Regions from separate parts of the Homo sapiens genome. Here regions 1, 3, 4, 5 and 6 are each linked to region 2. Evidence: promoter capture Hi-C in human tissues and cell types (Jung and others, 2019). All regions are on one chromosome and are shown on one strand. The core of a region is centred on a gene start or on the middle of the fragment in contact, and the rest is flanking DNA. Distances in the headings are between cores, read along the strand shown.

Region 1 (2,833 bases), core at 99-2,598, 710 kb before region 2:
GTATAGGAGGACACTTATCTTTCTACTTGTTCTGGGAAAGAACATGGGACTGAAGATATAACCATGTCTTAAACTGTGTATTTTTTTGTCCTCATTCAGGTACAAAGCTTTAAGTCCATATAATATAATCAGTATCAGATTATTATTATTATTTTTTTTTGAGACAGAGTTTTTTTGCTCTTGTTGCCCAGGCTGGAGTACAATGGCGCGACCTTGGCTAACTGCAACCTTGGCCTCCCAGGTTCAAGTGATTCTCCTGCCTCAGCCTCCCTAGTAGCTGGGATTACAGGCACCCGCCACCACGCCCAGCTAATTTTTTGTATTTTTAGTAGAGACGGGATTTCACTATGTTGGCCAGGTGATCCACCCGCATTGGCTTCCCAAAGTGCTAGGATTACAAGCGTGAGCCACTGTGCCCAGCTCAGTATCAGATTTTTATAGGACTGGCTAGAAAAATAACAATGAAACAAGCAAAAGGTGTTATGTTGTGCTTAACTGCTTCCTTAGAAAGAAGAGCTTATCAGAATGACTATTAAGAAGTCTTTTAGAAACTGAATTGATTGCCATGAATGGAGTATTAAGGGACTAATACAAATTAAAAAAATAAAAATAACTGAATTGAGAAACCCAAAAAATGAGGGGTGTTTTGTTTTGTTTTGTTTTTTGTTTTTTTTTGAGATGGAGTCTTGCTCTGTTGCCCAGGCTGGAGTGCAGTGGCATGATCTCAGCTCACTGCAACCCCACCTTTTGGGTTCAAGTGATTCTTCTCCCTCAGCCTCCCGAGTAGCTGGGACTACAGGCGAGCGCCACCATGCCCAGCTAATTTTTGTATTTTTAGTAGAGACAGGGTTTCACCATATTGGCCAGGCTGGTCTCGAAATCCTGACCTCGTGATCCACCCACCTCAGCCTCCCAAAGTGCTGGGATTACAGGTGTGAGCAACCTCGCCCAGCCCCAAGTTTATTAAAAAGCACTACTGCAATACCCAACAAATTAAAGGGTAGGTACTTTGAGGAAGTAGAGCCTGCCCCCTTTAAAAGCAGGACAAGCTACACTTTCAGAATAGGGAAAAAATGTATCTGAGGGATTTATTAACACTTAGCAAGGGCAGGATTTAAATAGTTTGAGCAGCAAAAGAGTTTTTCCAGAAGTTTTATTTACTTTTATTTAATTGCAGTCTAAACATGTGTCTTACAGTGAGCGTTTTCATATAAATAATTTACAGAAAAAAGTTATTTACAAAGCCACAGATCTCATTCAGTTAGGTAATATGGTTTTCTAGTTATTATGGGAAAGGTTAACACTTGATTGGGTCTATACAGTGCCTTAAAATTGCCCTCACCACATGAAGCTCTGTCCAGATGACAAAGAGAATGTATACCTCTTCATAAGTGACTATATATACTCCTGAATCCATAATCACTCTCAGACCTGTGTGAAGCTTGGTTAAGGTGAGATTCTTAAATTCAAGTTAGGCCAGGTATTGTGGCTCAATCCTGTAATCCCGGCACATTGGGAGGCCAAGGTGGGCGGATCATGTGAGGCTAGGAGTTCATGACCAGCCTGGCTAACAGAGTAACACCCCATCTCTACTAAACATACAAAAAATTAGCTCGGCATGGTGGTGCACACCTGTAATCTCAGCTATGCGGGAGGCTGGGGCATAAAAATTGCTTGAACCTGGGAGGCAGAGGTTGGGGTGAGCCGAAATCACGCCACTGCACTACAGCCTGGGCAACAGAGCAAGACTCTATCTTAAAAAAAAAAAAAAAAAAAAAAAAATCAGGCCAGGCATGGTGGCTCACTTCTGTAACCCCAAGATTTTGGGAGGCCAAGGCGGGCAGACCACTTGAGGTCAGGAGTTCAAGACTAGCTTGGCCAACATAGTGAAATCCTGTGTCTACAAAAAAAAAAAAAAGTAAAAATTATCTGGGCATGGTGGCACATGCATGTAATCCCAGCTACTCGAGAGGCTGAGGGAGGACGATCACTGGAACCTGGAAGGTAAAGGCTGCAATGAGCAGAGATCACACCACTGCACTCCAGCCTGGCCAACAGAGCAAGACTCCTATCTCAAAAAGAAATAATAATAATTCAAGTTATGTTGTACAGATTAGGTTTTAAAAATTAAGCTTTATTAATTTGGCTCAGCAATTTAAATTCTTGCTATGATGATTTGTAAGAACAGAAAAGTAGCTGATGGCAACTATATTTTCAACATAAAAGGATTTTGTGTTAATGACATAGCTGCCCGTCTCATTTGCAATGGAAATATCTTGTTTTAAAGAATGTATAGAAGTACTGTAAGAGTATACATGTTTTAACATTAAGTGGCTAGTAAGACTAGCAAGAAAGAAAAAAGAGCAAAATAAACAAGCTTCAGAAAAATATTAGCAAACAACATTTGCTGAATAGCACTGGGCGCGGTGGCTCACACCTATAATCCCAGCTCTTTGGGAGGCCAAGTTGGGAAGATCACCTGAGGTCAGGAATTCAAGACCAGCCTGGGCAACATAGGGAAACCCTGTCTCTACAAAAAATAAAAAACTCAGCCAGACATGGTGGTGTGTGCCACTAGTCCCAGCTACTCAGGAGACTAAGGCAGGAGGATCACTTGAGTCTGGGAGGTCAAGTCTGCAGTGAGCAGCAACTGCGCTATTGTGCTCCAGTCCAGGAGATAGAGCAACACACTGCTTCAAAAAAAGAAAGAAAAGGAAAGGAAAGGAAAGAAAGAGAAGTGTGTTGCATAGTAAAGCATTATACTGCCATACTGCAGTGGGTATGAAAATTACGTAGGTGCTGAAATTTAAATTCTAAAAACAAAAAACATCTT
Region 2 (2,970 bases), core at 289-2,788:
AACTCCTGGGCTCAAGCAATCCTCATGCCTCCGCCTCCTGTGAGACTACAGGTGTACGCCACCACACCTGGGTAATTTTCAAAATCTTTTTGTAGAGACAGGGTCTCATTACATTGCCCTGGCTGGTCTGGAATTCCTGGGCTTCAGCAGTCCTCCCGCCTCGGCCTCCCAAAGTAGAAATATCAGTATTGTTGTGGTTAGCCACCATTTATTGAGCACCTACTGTTGCTCAGCCCTGTGCTAGGGATTTCACATATGTTATTACGGCCTTTTATGAGGTGGGCAATATTACCCCTATTTCACAAATGAGGAAAGAGGTTTAAAGGGCTCAAGTGACTGGTACAGAAACCAAGTCTGTTTGGCTCCAAAGTCCAGGCCCTACCCCCCTGCCATGACCCAGAAGCTTGCAGGGCACTGAGCTTGCAGGGCATTGAGAAAGAGGAAGTGAATTGCTAGCTAATGAAGGCCAAAAGGGCCTGGAACCCAGACCTCCTGCTTCCCGGAGTTCCCTTCATCAAGCATCAGGCGAACAGCCCCTCTCACCTGAAGGGTCCAAAGCAATGGCCTCATAATCTAGTGCCTTACAGAGTGAGGCCGACAGCTATTATTACCCCCATTGCCAGATAAATCAACTATGGCCCAAGGAAGGAAAACCTCTGCCTGGGAATCCAGCATCTCAGTGGTCAGGAGGAGAGGCCAGGAGCCACTGACCCTAAGAGGCAGGGTCCAGTGAGACAGGAAGGGACCAGGCACCAGGGTTGCTGGAGCCACGAGGCGACGTCCCCTTTTTCCTGGCTCTTTCCACATGCCACAGTCAAGGACAAGAACACTTAGGGGCTGAGCTTTATTCTATAAACAGGGACAATTGCTCTAGCAGGAGAAGGGATGTGGTGTGGGGTGGGACCTGACAGGAGGACACGTGGTAAGAAGGAAGGAAGAGTTGGAAGGCTGAAGGCTTGGGAGCCACTTTTCCTGGCCAGGCAGGCATCACTGTGAGGTGAGGGCAGAGCCACTCTACCCCTAGTAGTGTGGGTTGGTGGGTTTGCCACAAGGGCTGCCTGCGGATACTGGTGAGTCCTGGTAAAGGTGACTGCTGGGCTCCAGATGATGCGCCCGGGAGGGCTGGGGGTGCAGGCTTCCTAGGTAATTTTCAAAATTGCTTCCTGGAGGGCGATTCCCAGCAGGGTGGCCCGAGGCAGGTCTGGCGCCCCCACTCTCTCCTTTGGAGGCTAGGAGGACCGGAGTCCCCGAGGTCCCACTCACCTCCGAGGCCATGTTGGGCGGTTCCTCGTCGTCCGGAAGCTTCGGTCCTCCGGGTCTGGAAGACAAGACCGGACTGACGACCTCCTTGGCCAGCAGGGTCCCCCGGGCCGGGCTGGCTCCGAGTTCTGGGCACTGCGCTTGAGGGAGCGCAGCCCTTGGGGACGCGGACGTGAGCGCGCGCCACGGTGCTCGGCGTCCTCCACGCCCGTCCCGCCCATCCGGCCGCCGCGCACTCACCTCCGCCTGGCCGCACGGATAGTGTCGCGCCCGCCACTGGCCAGGGCTTTTCTGGCCGGGATGGCGTCAGCAGCCGCCGGTCCTGTCCCCACCCCTGGCGACGGCCGCGCCAATAGGAGGCCGCCCGGCGGGGTGGGCGTTGCCTCCATCCTCCAATCCTGGCCGTGGGCGGGGATACCTCCCGCTGAGCTGGAGGCTAAGCGGCCCCGGGGCGGGGAAGCGGGCGGGGAAAGGGTTGGGGGGACCCCGACGGGGAAGGGGCCTGGGCTGGGGTTGAGGAGGGTAGTGCGCTGGCGTTCGTGCTGTGGTCAGCAGACACGCAGGGGACTGGAGACTCGGGCCAGGGGTAGAGGCTATGACATCAGGCCCGGGCCTGGCAGGTTCACAAGATATATAAGGTGAAATGGCATGTTCGCTCATTCACTCATTCATTCATTCATTCAACAAACACGTACCAGGCACCTCTATGTGCCAGGTACAGAGAAAGGCATCAAGGAAAAAGGAAGGACCATCAGAAATGAAGCCTGTGCCAGGCGCGGTGGCTCACAGCTGTAATCCCAGCACTTTGGGAGGCCGAGGTGGGAGGATCGCTTGAGGCTACGAGTTGGAGACCAGCCTGGGCAATACAACAAGATCCCGTCTCTACAAAAAAATTAATAATAATAAAAAAAAAGCCGGGCGTGGTGGTGCACGCCTGCAGTCCTAGCTACTCAGGAGGCTGAGGCGGGAGGAGCACTTGAGCCCAGGAGTTCGAAGCTGCAGTGAGCTATTGTGCCACGGCACTCCAGCCTGACTCCTCTAAAAAAGAAAAGAAACGCGGCCGGAGGCCGGGCGCGGTGGCTCACGCCTGTAATCCCAGCACTTTGGAAGGCCGAGGCGGGTGGATCACGAGGTCAGGAGTTTGAGACCAGCCTGGCCAAGGTGGTGAAACCCCGTCTCTACTAAGAATACAAAAATTAGCCGGGCACGGTGGCGGGTGCCTGCAATCCCAGCGACTCCGGAGGCTGAGGCAGGAGAATCTCTTGAACCCGGGAGGCGGAGATTGCAGTGAGCTGAGATGGTGCCATTGCACTCCAGCCTGGGTGACAGAGCAAGATTCTGTCTCAAAAAAAAAAAAAAAAAAAAAAAGAAAGAAAGAAAGAAAGAAAGAAAAGAAAAGAAAAAAGAAACGCAGCCGGGCACAGTGGCTTACGCCTTTAATCCCAGCACTTTGAGAGGCTGAGGCGGGCGGATCACCTGAGGTCAGGAATTCGAGATGAGCCTGGCTGACATGGTGAAACCTTGTCTCTATTAGCCGGGTGTGGTGGTGGGTGCCTGTAGTCCCAGCTACTCCGACAGCTGAGGCAGGAGAATCACTTGAACCAGGGAGGTGGAGGCTGCAGTGAGCTGAGACGGCACCACTGCACTGCAGCCTGGGCGACAGTGAGACTCTTGTCTCGAAAAAAAAAAAAAAAAAAGAAAGAAAGAAAG
Region 3 (2,819 bases), core at 66-2,565, 690 kb before region 2:
GCAAACGGTTATAGTAGCAATATTTGTGATGACAAAAAATGACAACTAAAATATCCTTCAATGGGTGAATGAATAAACAAACTATGGTGCACCCATACAACAGAATGCTACTCAGGAAAACAACAACAACAGGTATCAGTACACCCAACAACTTTGATGAATCTCAAAGGCTTTATGCTGATAGAAGCCAGCATCTTAGTTCCTTCTGGCTGCAGTAACAAAATACCATAAACTGGGTAGGTTATAAAAAACAGAAATTTATTTCTCACAGTGCAGGAAGCTGGCAAGTTCAAGATCAGGAAGTCAACAGATGTTGGTGTCTGGTGGTTCAATGAAGATACCTTCTCCCTGTGTCCTCACATGGTGGGAGGGGGAGACAGGCTAGGCTCTCTGCAGTCTCTTATAAGGGCACTTACAAGCCCCAGTCATGAGGTCTCCACTTTCATGAACTAATCACCTCCCAAAGGCTCCACCTCCTAGTAGCAACACCTTGTGGTTTAGAATTTCAACATATGAATTTGGGGGACAGACAAAGATTCAGACCATAGCAGCCATCTTAAAAGTTTACATACTATATGATTCCATTTAGGAACTAGGGGTAGGAAAGAATGTGACTATAAAGGATTAGCACGAGAAAGTTTTTTGGGGTGATGAAACTGTTCTGTATTCTGATTGTGGAGGTGTTTACATAAATCTAATAAAATTTAAAAATTCGCAGACCATTATACTCCTCCCAGATCAATTTTACTCTATGATTTAAACAAAAAAAAAACCTCGGCTGGGCACAGTGGCTCACACCTATAATCCCAGCACTTTGGGAGGCTGAGGCGGGTGGATCACCTGAGGGCAGGAGTTTGAGACCAGCCTGGCCAACATGGCAAAACCTCGTCTCTATTAAACATACAAAAATTAGCTGAGCATGGTGGCAGACGTCTGTAATCCCAGCTACTTGGGAGGCTGAGACACAAGAATCGCATGAACCGGGGAGATGGAGGTTGCAGTGAGCCAAGATCATGCCATTGCACTCCAGCCTGGGCAACAGAGGGAGACGCCATCTCAAAAAAAAAAAAAAAAAAAAGAAACTTGACAGGCAATTTCCAGGTTGGATTAGGGAGAAGTACAGAACAGAAGACACAGATACTGACCAAGAGACAACTACAATTAGAGGACTTGAGGTAACACAGTGGGTAGCCAGGCATGGTGGCGCTTGCCTGTAATCCCAGGTACTCAGGAGGCTGAGGCACAAGAATCGCTTGGACCTGGGAGGCAGAGGCTGCAGTAAGCCGAGATCGCACCACTGCACTCCAGCCTGCGCAACAGAGTGAAACCCTGTCTCGAAAATAAATAAATAAATAAATAAATAAATAAGAGGTAACAGTGGGAATGGAAAGACGACGGGTGGTAATCTACCTTAGAGATCAGATCTTTAATAGTTATTTAATGAGACTTGACAGAGAGAGGGAAATCTAATTAGAAAAAACTCTCAAGTTTACTGTTTACTTCCTCTACAAGGTTAAAGCCCTCCAAGGTCAGGATTTAGATCTAAGACACCAGCCATTTATAAATAGTAGATAAGGCTGAGGTAGAAAGCAAGAAAATAACAAGTAGAAAAAAAGAAAAGAATAGAGTCCTAGAATGTTTTTAAAGACCATCTACTACATCCTATAGTAAGAGATAAAGATACTAACATTAAGAAATCATGACTTATTCCATCAAAAAGGTAGTAAGTGGCAGAGACATCACTAAGCACTAAGCTTCCTTTTTTTTTTTTTTTGGAAGACAGGGTCTGTCATTCAGGCTAGAGTGCAGTGGCGTGATCACAGCTCACTGCAGCCTTGACTTCCCGAGCTCAAGCAATACTCCACCACTCAGCCACCATGCCTGGCTAATTGTTGTTATTTTTTTGTAGAGGCGGTGTTTCGCCACGTTACCCAGGTGGTCTTGAACTCCTGAGCTCAAGTAAGCCTATACTTAGTATGCCAAGTCCTGGGTTTCAAATTATTTTGAAAGTCTGAGCTAATCTTGCCATTATCATCCTGATGTCCCTTTTCTTCCCTTCCAAGAGAAATGGGCAAAAGGAAGATACCTATTTTTAAGTATAGATCAATTAAGTTTTTTTAAATTTTGTACTATAAGTATGATAGTACTACTCAATGTTACTAAAATGAACATAGTTTGGGAAGTCTGCCTAGCACATAACCTCCCATGTTATCAGGAAACTGTCCTCTCAATCCACAAAGATAAGCTGGCAGCAGCTATATTTGTATAAGGTGAATGGTCCCCCAATTCAGGATCACAGCTGATTGCCTCCAACTGTGTTAGAGTCTTTTGCTTCGAGTTTTGGAAATGGGACTAAGTCGGGGCTGTTCTCTTGAATGATGGAGCTGTGTGACATGATCCTTCTATCAAGTGGTCTGAGTATCAGGACAGTCTACAGAATGAAATAGACATACCCCAAGAAGCAGAGAAAAGTAGAAGGTCCTGTACGTCCTGAATGATTTCAATCTCCCAGTTCCAATCCCTGGCTAAGGTTTACGTGCACGCCCATCCTCAGATTCTGAGTCATACACCCTGGTCCCCTAACTACTTTTGTCGTTTTTTCTTAAGCTGGTTCCAGTAGAGCCTATTATCTATGCCAAAAGACTTGTACAGATGCTCTTTAAGAGCTAGAAAAACATAAAGGAGTGCTCTGTGGATTACTTGGCATACAATAAAAGCTCACTATGTATTAGACAGAAACAATAACAATAGCTCTGAGTCTAAGAAGACTGATTTGGTGTGGACCATGAAATCACAGAGATCAGTCCTATCTGCACTCC
Region 4 (2,785 bases), core at 46-2,545, 910 kb before region 2:
ACTTGTGTTCTGAGGGTCATTATGGTATCGTAATGTAAAGCTTGGATGATGTTCCTGATTATCTGAGAAACAGATATAGAAAAATTGTGCCGGACTTACCTTTCATTGAACATGCTGCCATAACTTAGATTATTCTTGGTTAAAAAATAAAAGTCACTTATTTCTAATTCTTAAAGTTTATAATATATATTAATATAGCTAAAATTGTATGTAATCAATAAAACCACTCTTATGTTTATTAAACTATGGCTTGTGTTTCTAGACAACTTCCTAACTCCCTTTCTTTTCTCTGCCTGTGTCTGTGGTAGGGTTAGGGAGTTGTCAGGAGAACTGAATAAGTCCATATGAAGAGTGCTTAGAACAGGGCCTGTACTTGTAAACACCTGAAAAATTTTTGCTAACACTTGGGATGTAATTGGGAAGAATTATTTTAGTATTTAAACACTTAAATGGACAAGATGCAAGCTTTTAAAAATCTACTTCAAGGCCAGGGGAGGTGACTCACACCTGCAATCCCAACACTTTGGGAGGCCGAGGCAGGCGGATCACCTGAGGTCAGGAGTTTGAGACCAGCCTGACCCACATGGTGAAACCCTGTCTCTACTAAAAATACAAAAATTAGCCAGGCATGGTGGTGCACGCCTGTAGTCCCAGCTACTCGGGAGGCTGAAGCAGGAGAATCACTTGAACCCAGGAGGCAGAGGTTGCAATGAGCTGAGAATGTGCCACTGCACTCCAGTCTAGGTGACAGAGTGAAACTCGGTCTCCAAAAAAAAGAAAAAAAATCTATTTCAAAAGATACATTCTAGAATATAAATTAAATTCACTCAAAATAAACATACAGATGTATTTCTGGACAGCAGTTTTTAACTGAAGACAGGCTTCTTGACTTGAAAAGGTACTGATTGGTTTATAAGCACACACAACTCCCTGCTAATACAAGCTCTCAGAAATGTCCCTTTAGTTTAAAATAACTAACATTGAGGTTATAAAGTCAAAATTTTTTCTTATATTGTTAACAAAATACATTGATAACATGGGAATGAACACTTTTTCTGTTAATGCTAAAGCTAGGCTGCTGTTTTGATACAGCTATTTGTTCAATATATCAATAGTTCTATCTTAGTAAAAAAATATAAACATTTAATAGAACATTTCCTTAAGATTTTCTGGGGCCAGGCGCAGTGGCTCCCACCGGTAATCCCAGCACTTTGGGAGGCCAAGGCGGGTGAATCACTTGAGCTTGGGAGTTTGAGACCAGCCTGGGCAACACAGTGAAACCCCGTCTCTACAAAAATACAAAAAATTAGGCATGGTGGTGTGCACCTGTTTTCCCAACTACTTGGGAGGCTGAGGCAGGAGGATCACTTGAGCCCGGGAGGCGGAGGTTGCAGTGAGCTAAAATCACCCCACTGCACTCCAGCCTGGACAACAGAGCCAGACCCCATCTCAAAACAAAGATTTTCTGATTCTGAATATTCATTTTTTCTAAAAAGCTGGAACTTCAAGAAATGTCAAATGTGGATCACATCTGAGTCATCATCTAAACTTATTTTTTTAATTTTATACTAATTTCATTATCAAAGAACTTAACATTTTTTGGTTCATGATCATCTTCCCAGTACCACAGCCATAATGGATTATTTTAAGGATTGGTTTGACTTTTTCAATGCAAGCTGATGGTGTGTGCATTTGGTCACAATGACATTTCAGACTTAGGCCTCTTCTTTTACCACAGTTCTTTTCTCTGAAGCTTCCCTTGTACCCCATACACAAGTATTTGCTCCAGTTGCTGGAAGCCAGTACTCTACTTAAATTCCTTCATGGGTCTGGATTTATTCAAACTTGTATTAGAGCTGCTTAATTATCTGCCTTCAGGCTAGACTGTGAGCTCCTTAAGGGCAAGGGACTTAGCAATGTGTGTGTATATCCCACCATGCTTTGGACCTAGCAGATGTGGAGTAAATGTCTGAAATAATAAACACGTGGACCAGGCACAGTGGCTCATGCCTGTAATCCCAGCACTTTGGGAGGCCCAGGTGGGCAGATCACCTGAGGTCAGGAGTTCAAGACCAGCCTGGCCAAAATGACGAAACCCAGTCTCTATTAAAAATACAAAAATTAGCTGGCTGTGGTTGCTCACGCCTGTAATACCAAGACTTTGGGAGGCCAAGGCAGGCAGATCACGAGGTCAAGAGATCGAGACCATCCTGGCCAACATGCTGAAACCCTGTCTCTACTAAAAATACAAAAATTAGCTGGGCACGGTGGCGCATGCCTCTAGTCCCAGCTACTCAGGAGGCTGAGGCAGGAGAATCACTTGAACCTGGTAGGCAGAGGTTGCAGTGAGCCACTGCACTCCAGCCTGGGTGACAGAGCGAGACGCTGACTCAAAAAAAAAAAGAAATTAGCTGGGCATGGTGGCGGCCGCCTGTAATCCCAGCTGCTCAAGAGGCTGAGGCTAGAGAATCTCTTGAACCTAGGAGGCAGAGGTTGCAGTGAGCCAAGATTCTGCCACTACACTCCAGCCTGGGTGACAAGAGCAAAACTCCATCTCAAAAAAAATATATTTTATATCAGAACTAAATGTAAACATAAAACTATCAGATACTGGCTTACACCTGTAATCTCAACACTTGGGGAGGCCAAGGCTGCCGGATCACGATGTCAGGAGATGGAGACCATCCTGGCTAACACGGTGAAACCCCGTCTCTACTAAAAATACAAAAAATTAGCCGGGAGTGGTGGCACGTGTCTGTAGTCCCAGCTACTCGGGAGGCTGAGG
Region 5 (2,956 bases), core at 90-2,589, 580 kb before region 2:
ATCATTGCCTCCTAGGTTGAAGGGATTCTCCCACCTCAGCCTCCCAAGTAGCTGGAATTGCAGGCGCCCACCACCACGCCCAGCTAATTTTCTTGTATTTTTAATCGAGACAGGGTTTCACCGTGATGGCCAGGCTGGTTTCGAATTCTGACCTCAACTGATCCGCCCCCCTTGGCGTCCCAAAGTGTTAGGATTACAGGTGCCCGCCACCACGCCTGGCTAATTTTTGTATTTTTAGTAGAGACGGGGTTTCACCGTGTTAGCCAGGATGGTCTCGATCTCCTGACCTTGTGATCCGCCCGCCTCGGCCTCCCAAAGTGGTGGGATTACAGGCGTGAGCCACTGCGCCCCGCCAATTTTGTATTTTTAGTACAGACGGGGTTCCTCCATGTTGTCAGGCTGGTCTCAAACTCCTGACCTCAGGTGATCCACCTGTCTCAGCATCCCAGGCATGAGCCACCAAGCCCAGCCTCATTTGGTTACTTTTTGCATGGAATTTATTTTTTCATTCTTTTGTTTTCAATCTCTTTGTTTCTTTGTATCTAAAGTGAGTCTCTTATAGACAGTATATGGATGGATCATGTTGTATTTTATTTTACTTATTTTTTTTACATTTCCCAAGGCTCTGTCATCCACCTTTTCATTAAATCATTCTACCAATCTCTCCTGGGCTCAGGTGATCCTACCACCTCAACTGCCTGAGTAGCTTGGACTGCAGGCACATGCCACCGCTCATGGCCTATATTCTTCTTCTCTTTTTTTTTGGGTGGGGGGGTGGTGCTTAAACAACAGAAATTTATTTCTCTTGGTTATGGAGTCTAGAAATCCAAGTTAAGGGCTGGGCGCAGTGGCTCACACCCGTAATCTCAGCACCTTGGAAGGCCAAGGCAGATGGATCACCTGAGGTCAGGAGTTCCAGACTGGCCTGGCCAACATGGCAAAACCCCGTCTCTACAAAAAATACAAAACTCAGGCATGAAAAACCAAAAGAAATCCAAAATCAGATCACAGAATTGGCAGGTTTGGTTTCTCCTGAGGCCTCTCTCCTTGGCTTATAAATGGTCACCTTTTCACTGTGTCCTCACATGGCCTTTTCTCTGTGAACATGCATTCTTGGTGTCTGTGTGTGTGTCCAAATTTCCTCTTTTTATAAAGTCACCAGTCGAATTGGACTAGGGCCCACCCTAATGGCATCATCTTAACTCACCTCTTTAGAGACCCTATTCCTAAATACAGTCACATTCTGAGGTATTGGAGTTAGGACTTCAACATATAAATTTGGTGGGGATCACAATTAAGCCTATAACATAATCATAGTTACTTAAAAAATAAATAACATGGTGATATAGAATAAGCAGGCAGGAGCGAGGGTTTGGGAGCCTAGGGAGAACCTGGTAAGATGGCACCAAGTTGACACCATAAGGGACTGTGAGGGTGAAGCCACCTGGGAAGGAAGAAGAGAAGGAAGATGCCAGACAGTCCTGGAGGTTAGGCAGGACTTAAATGACTTTGAGACTGGTCACTCATCCAAATATGAAAACTCTCGGGACTCAGAAAATGATAGGACTAAGCAAAAATCCAGCACCAGGGCGGGTGGCTCATGCCTGTAATCCCAGCACTTTGGGAGGCCGAGGTGGATGGATCACCTGAGGTCAGGAGTTCGAGACCAGCTCTGGCCAAATGGTGAAACCCCATCTCTACTAAAAATACAAAAATTAGCTGGGCATGGTAGTGCACACCTGTAATCCCAGCTATTCAGGAGGCTGAGAGAGGAGAATCGCTTGAACACGGGAGGCAGAGGTTGCGGTGAGCTGAGATTGCGCCATTGCACTCCAGCCTGGGTGACAAGAGTGAAACTCCCATCTCAAAAAAATAAAAAGGCAGCACGAGTGCAAATGTTTTGGCTTCTTCTTGTGTAGCTCATCTCATATCTCCCAGTTAGAAACTTTCCTTGTAATGTAGAATCCCTATTGCTGGGATATAAACCTGTATCCTCCTGTTCTGTCCCCAGGGAAGAGATGTCACAAGTCTGTTCATTCATTAGAGTACTATTATTTATCTTTTCTGTAGACTTATTTTCCGCAAGTTGTTTTGGCTTCTTTTCTGTAACTGGATCTGGGTAACCTGACAGTGCAGAACCAGGCCCTGGGCTTCAGCACAGGGACATGCCGAGGCTCGGGACACAGACACGTCCCCACTCTGCTACCCACTAGCCTAGGGACTCAACTGGGCTAGTTAGTCGGCTTTCTCAAACTCTTCATCTGGAAAACAATGTTAGATTCTGGTTAAATTTAGCTCTGAATATGATCATATCTATTTAAGCATTATTATTATTATTATTATTTTTTTTTTTTGGAGATGGAGTCTTGCTGTATCACCAGGCTGGAATGCAGTTGTGCAGGCTCTGCCTCCTGGGTTCAAGCGATTCTCCTGCGTCAGCCTCCCGAGTAGCTGGGATTACAGGCATGTGCCACCATGCCCGGCTAATTTTTGTATTTTTAGTAAAGATGGAGTTTCACCATGTTGGCCAGGCTGCTCTTGAACTCCTGACCTCTTGATCCGCCCACCTCAGCCTCCCAAAGTGCTGGGATTACAGGCCGGAGCCACCGCGCCTGACCTATTTAATCATTTCTAAGGTTTTCTAAAAATCAAGCCCTCTGTATTACTTCTCTCAAGCTTTGGAGCCTAAACTAGAAGAAATAAAAGTCTGATTTCTGCCTCTTATTTTTCTTTACATTCTATTTCAGCTCATGATGCTTGTTCATTTTTTGGACAGTTAAATAGCAGCTTGGACTCAAGTTCACTATAAAGTTCACAATTACTCCTCGGCCATTTCTAGCCAACAGTGGTGTGGTCCAGCCATTCCCTTCCTCATTTTGGTCACCCACTGACCTCCAGGTTGCTCCTCAAATCCAATAGTTTGTGGGCACTTGGCACATAGTGGGTCTCCATGCTG
Region 6 (3,157 bases), core at 2-2,501, 930 kb before region 2:
CAGAGAACCCCAGTGAGATATTACGTAAGATGGCCATCCCCAAGACACAAAATCATCAGATTCTCCAGTCGAAATGAAAGAAAAAATGTTAAAGGCAGCTAGAGAGAAGGGGCAGGTCAGCTACATAGGGAATCCCATCAGGGTAACAGTGGACCTTTCAGCAGAAACCCTACAATCCAGAAGAGATTGGGGCCTATATTGAGCATTCTTAAAGAAAAGAAATTTCAAGCAGGGCATGGTGGCTCACATCTGTAATCCCAGCACTTTGGGAGGCCAAGATGGGTGGATCACCTGAGGTCAGGAGTTGGAGACCAGCCTGACCAACATGGTGAAACCCCATCTCTACTAAAAATGCAAAAATCAGCCAGATGTGGTGGCGCACACCTGTAGTCCCAGCTACTCGGGAGGCTGAGGCAGGAGAATCACTTGAACTCGGGAGGCAAAGGTTGCAGTGAGCTGAGATCGCACCACTGCACTCCAGCCTGGGTGACAGAGAAAGACTCTGTCTCAAAAAAGAAAACAAGAAATTTCAACCAAGAATTTCATATCCAGCCAAATTAAGCTTCATAAGCGAAGGAGAAACAAGATCCTTTCAGGCAAACAAATGCTAAGGGAATTTATTACAACCAGACCTGCCTTACAAGAGGTCCTTAAGGAAGTGCTAACTATGTAAAGGAAAAATTGTTATGGGCCACCATAAAAAGGTTTATTTGGTTCACAATTCTGATATCTGAAAAAGTTCAAGATTGGACAACTACATCTGGTGAGGGCTCCAGGCTGCTTCTACTCCTGGCAGAGTAGAAGTGAAAGGGAGCTGGCGAGCACAAAGATCACATAGCAAGAGAGGAAACAAGAGTGCAGGAGAGGTTCCAGGCTCTTCTTACCAACAAGCTCTCTTGGGAACTAAGACAGCAAGAACTCACTCACCCCTCCCCCAGGGATTCATCTATTCAGGAGGGATCTGCCCCCAGGACCCAAACACCTCCCATTAGGCCCATCACCAACACGAGGGATCAAATTTCAACATCAGTTTTGGGGGAACAAACAACAAATTATAGCAGAAATCAATGGTGAGATGACTGTCCTAATCCAGACAAAATATCATGGCAGTGTCAAAGCTGTCAGAATCAACAACATGGAGTTACTTATGTTAAAATATCCCTGACAATAAGAGCTAGGGAAGACAAAGAATTCGCACACTTAGATTGTTTTTTTTGTTTTTTGTTTTTTGTTTTTTTTGAGACAAGGTTTCACTCTGTCCCCCAGACTGGAGTGCAGTGGCGCCATCTTGGCTCACTGCAACCTCTGCCTCCCGGGTTCAAGTGATTCTCATGCCTTAGCCTCCCGTGTAGCTGGGATTACAGGCATGTGCCACCACACCAGGCTAATTTTTGTATTTTTTAGTACAAATGGGGTTTTGCCATGTTGGCCAGGCTAATCTCAAACTCCTGACCTCAAGTGACCCACCTGCCTCAGCCTCCTAAACTGCTGGGATTACAGGCATGAGCCACCACACCTGGCCTCACACTCAAATTCCTGACAATGAGAAAGATTCTACAAAAAATACAACCTTGCACAAAGACCAGTGCAACCTTACACAAAAAATACTACTGCAAGGACATCTGCCCAGCAACTTCATGTCCAACCTTGGATTGTGTCACCTTTGTTATTAACCTTTGTAGGCAAGAATAATTATTTCAAAACAATTCTGTAATCCTCATTTTTTCCCTTACAAATCTTTGCCTTCCTTTACTTCCCTGAATACATGCAGTTTACTATGGCAATTGTATCCCCATTGCAATGTACGTGCTATTCCCAAACAAACATCTTTTCTTTTGGAGAGCCTCTCTATGGTATTTAGGTTGACAATGGCATGGACCAGGGGAGTAGCAGTGAAGGTGGTAAGAAGTGATTGGAAACTGAATCTATTCTTAAAGTAGAACAAACAGAATCTGCTGACAGACTGGACATGGGTTGTATAAAAAGAAGTCAAAAGGTGTTTTGGACCAAGCAATTGGAAGGATAAAGTTGTCATTTACTGAAATTGTAAGGATTACAAGTAGAGCAGGCTTGGGCAGAAAATTGGGAGTTCAGTTTTGAGCACACTGATGTTAAGATGCTTACTAGACATTCATATGATGCTCTAAGATAGGTAACTCGATATGAAAGTCTGGAGTTGAGAGAAACAGTTAAGATTAGAAACAGAAATTTAGGGCCAGGCGCGTGGCTCAAGCCTGTAATCCTAACACTTTCAGTGGCCGAGGCGGGTGAATCACTTGAGGCTAGGAGTTTGAGACCAGCCTGGCCAACATGCAGAAACCCCGTCTCCACTAAAAATACAAAAATCCCAGCACTTTGGGAGGCCAATGCCACTGCACTCCAGCCTGGGTGACAGAGTAAGACCCTGTCTCAAAAAAAAAAAAAAAGAAAAAAGAAAAAGAAAAAGAAAAAGTTACAAAAAATATAAGAGAAAAGATCTGAGACACAGAAGACGATCCAAAAGGTAGAACATCCCACAGGAATCCCAGAAAAAAAGAAATGAAAAGGGGAAAAAAAAATTCATCCAAGAAATATTAACAGAACTAATGCACACAAATCGTCAAAATGCATACAAATCGTCAAAACAAAAAAAATTCAAGTATACAGAACAATAGCTGAAAAAGATCCAAATAGTCACCTTCCCATAAAATTTCCAGAAATCAAGGACAAAGAAATGATCCGAAAATCTTCCAGAAACAAAATAATCAAGTCATCTACAAATTCGCTTTCTCATTAGCAATACTAACATGCTGGAAGACAATGAAGCTACGCCTTCTGAGGCAAAAGTTTTTAATAGTCTTCTACACACGACCAAATATGAATCAATCAAATCCAACAGCAGAATGAAGAAATATTGAGATGGGCTGGGCACAGTGGCTCACACCTGTAATCCTAGCCCAATATTGAGATGGGCTGGGCATAGTGGTTCATGCCTGTAATCCTAGACAGAAGGATCTCTTGAGGCCAGGAGTCAAGACCAGCCTGGGCAACATAAGGAGACCCCATCTCTACAAAAAAAATTTTTTTAATTAGCCCAGCATGGTGGCACAAGCCCATATTCCCATCTACCCAGGAGGGTGGGTCAGGAGAATCGCTGGAGCCCAAGAGGTCGAGGCTG

What was found. The method cuts DNA at HindIII sites, captures the fragments that hold promoters and counts their contacts. A contact is called where the count stands out against the background at its distance.
Region 1: a fragment that was not itself captured here is called in contact with the fragment with the promoter of ASL in region 2 in 3 of the 25 tissues and cell types used here (heart left ventricle, hippocampus and mesenchymal stem cells).
Region 3: a fragment that was not itself captured here is called in contact with the fragment with the promoter of ASL in region 2 in 1 of the 25 tissues and cell types used here (aorta).
Region 4: a fragment that was not itself captured here is called in contact with the fragment with the promoter of ASL in region 2 in 1 of the 25 tissues and cell types used here (pancreas).
Region 5: a contact is called between a fragment that was not itself captured here and the fragment with the promoter of ASL in region 2, in 1 of the 25 tissues and cell types used here (dorsolateral prefrontal cortex).
Region 6: a fragment that was not itself captured here is called in contact with the fragment with the promoter of ASL in region 2 in 1 of the 25 tissues and cell types used here (mesenchymal stem cells).

The regions. Positions count from the first base shown.
Region 1 is chr7:66,786,286-66,789,118 of GRCh38, reverse strand. All of the region lies in intron 4 of RABGEF1 (RAB guanine nucleotide exchange factor 1), which reads right to left. Among named protein-coding and RNA genes, the nearest start is that of RABGEF1, 47 kb to the right of the region's middle. The HindIII fragment of the contact is 4,062 bases long and covers 1-2,833 here.
Region 2 is chr7:66,074,387-66,077,356 of GRCh38, reverse strand. ASL (argininosuccinate lyase) reads right to left here and starts at 1,538. Exons shown (of 17, transcript NM_000048.4): 1 at 1,501-1,538; 2 at 1,264-1,318. The coding sequence starts at 1,275. RefSeq lists an enhancer at 988-1,267 and a silencer at 1,368-1,897. The HindIII fragment of the contact is 4,995 bases long and covers 854-2,970 here.
Region 3 is chr7:66,765,260-66,768,078 of GRCh38, reverse strand. The region is part of intron 1 of RABGEF1 (RAB guanine nucleotide exchange factor 1); the gene reads right to left. Among named protein-coding and RNA genes, the nearest start is that of RABGEF1, 26 kb to the right of the region's middle. The HindIII fragment of the contact is 4,344 bases long and covers 1-2,819 here.
Region 4 is chr7:66,985,158-66,987,942 of GRCh38, reverse strand. It overlaps SBDS (SBDS ribosome maturation factor), which reads left to right. Exons shown (of 5, transcript NM_016038.4): 5 at 1-263. Among named protein-coding and RNA genes, the nearest start is that of SBDS, 9.0 kb to the left of the region's middle. The HindIII fragment of the contact is 6,084 bases long and covers 1-2,785 here.
Region 5 is chr7:66,650,194-66,653,149 of GRCh38, reverse strand. No RefSeq gene overlaps it. Among named protein-coding and RNA genes, the nearest start is that of KCTD7, 23 kb to the right of the region's middle. The HindIII fragment of the contact is 3,311 bases long and covers 1-2,956 here.
Region 6 is chr7:67,002,126-67,005,282 of GRCh38, reverse strand. The region is part of intron 3 of TYW1 (tRNA-yW synthesizing protein 1 homolog); the gene reads right to left. Among named protein-coding and RNA genes, the nearest start is that of TYW1, 6.9 kb to the right of the region's middle. The HindIII fragment of the contact is 3,526 bases long and covers 1-3,014 here.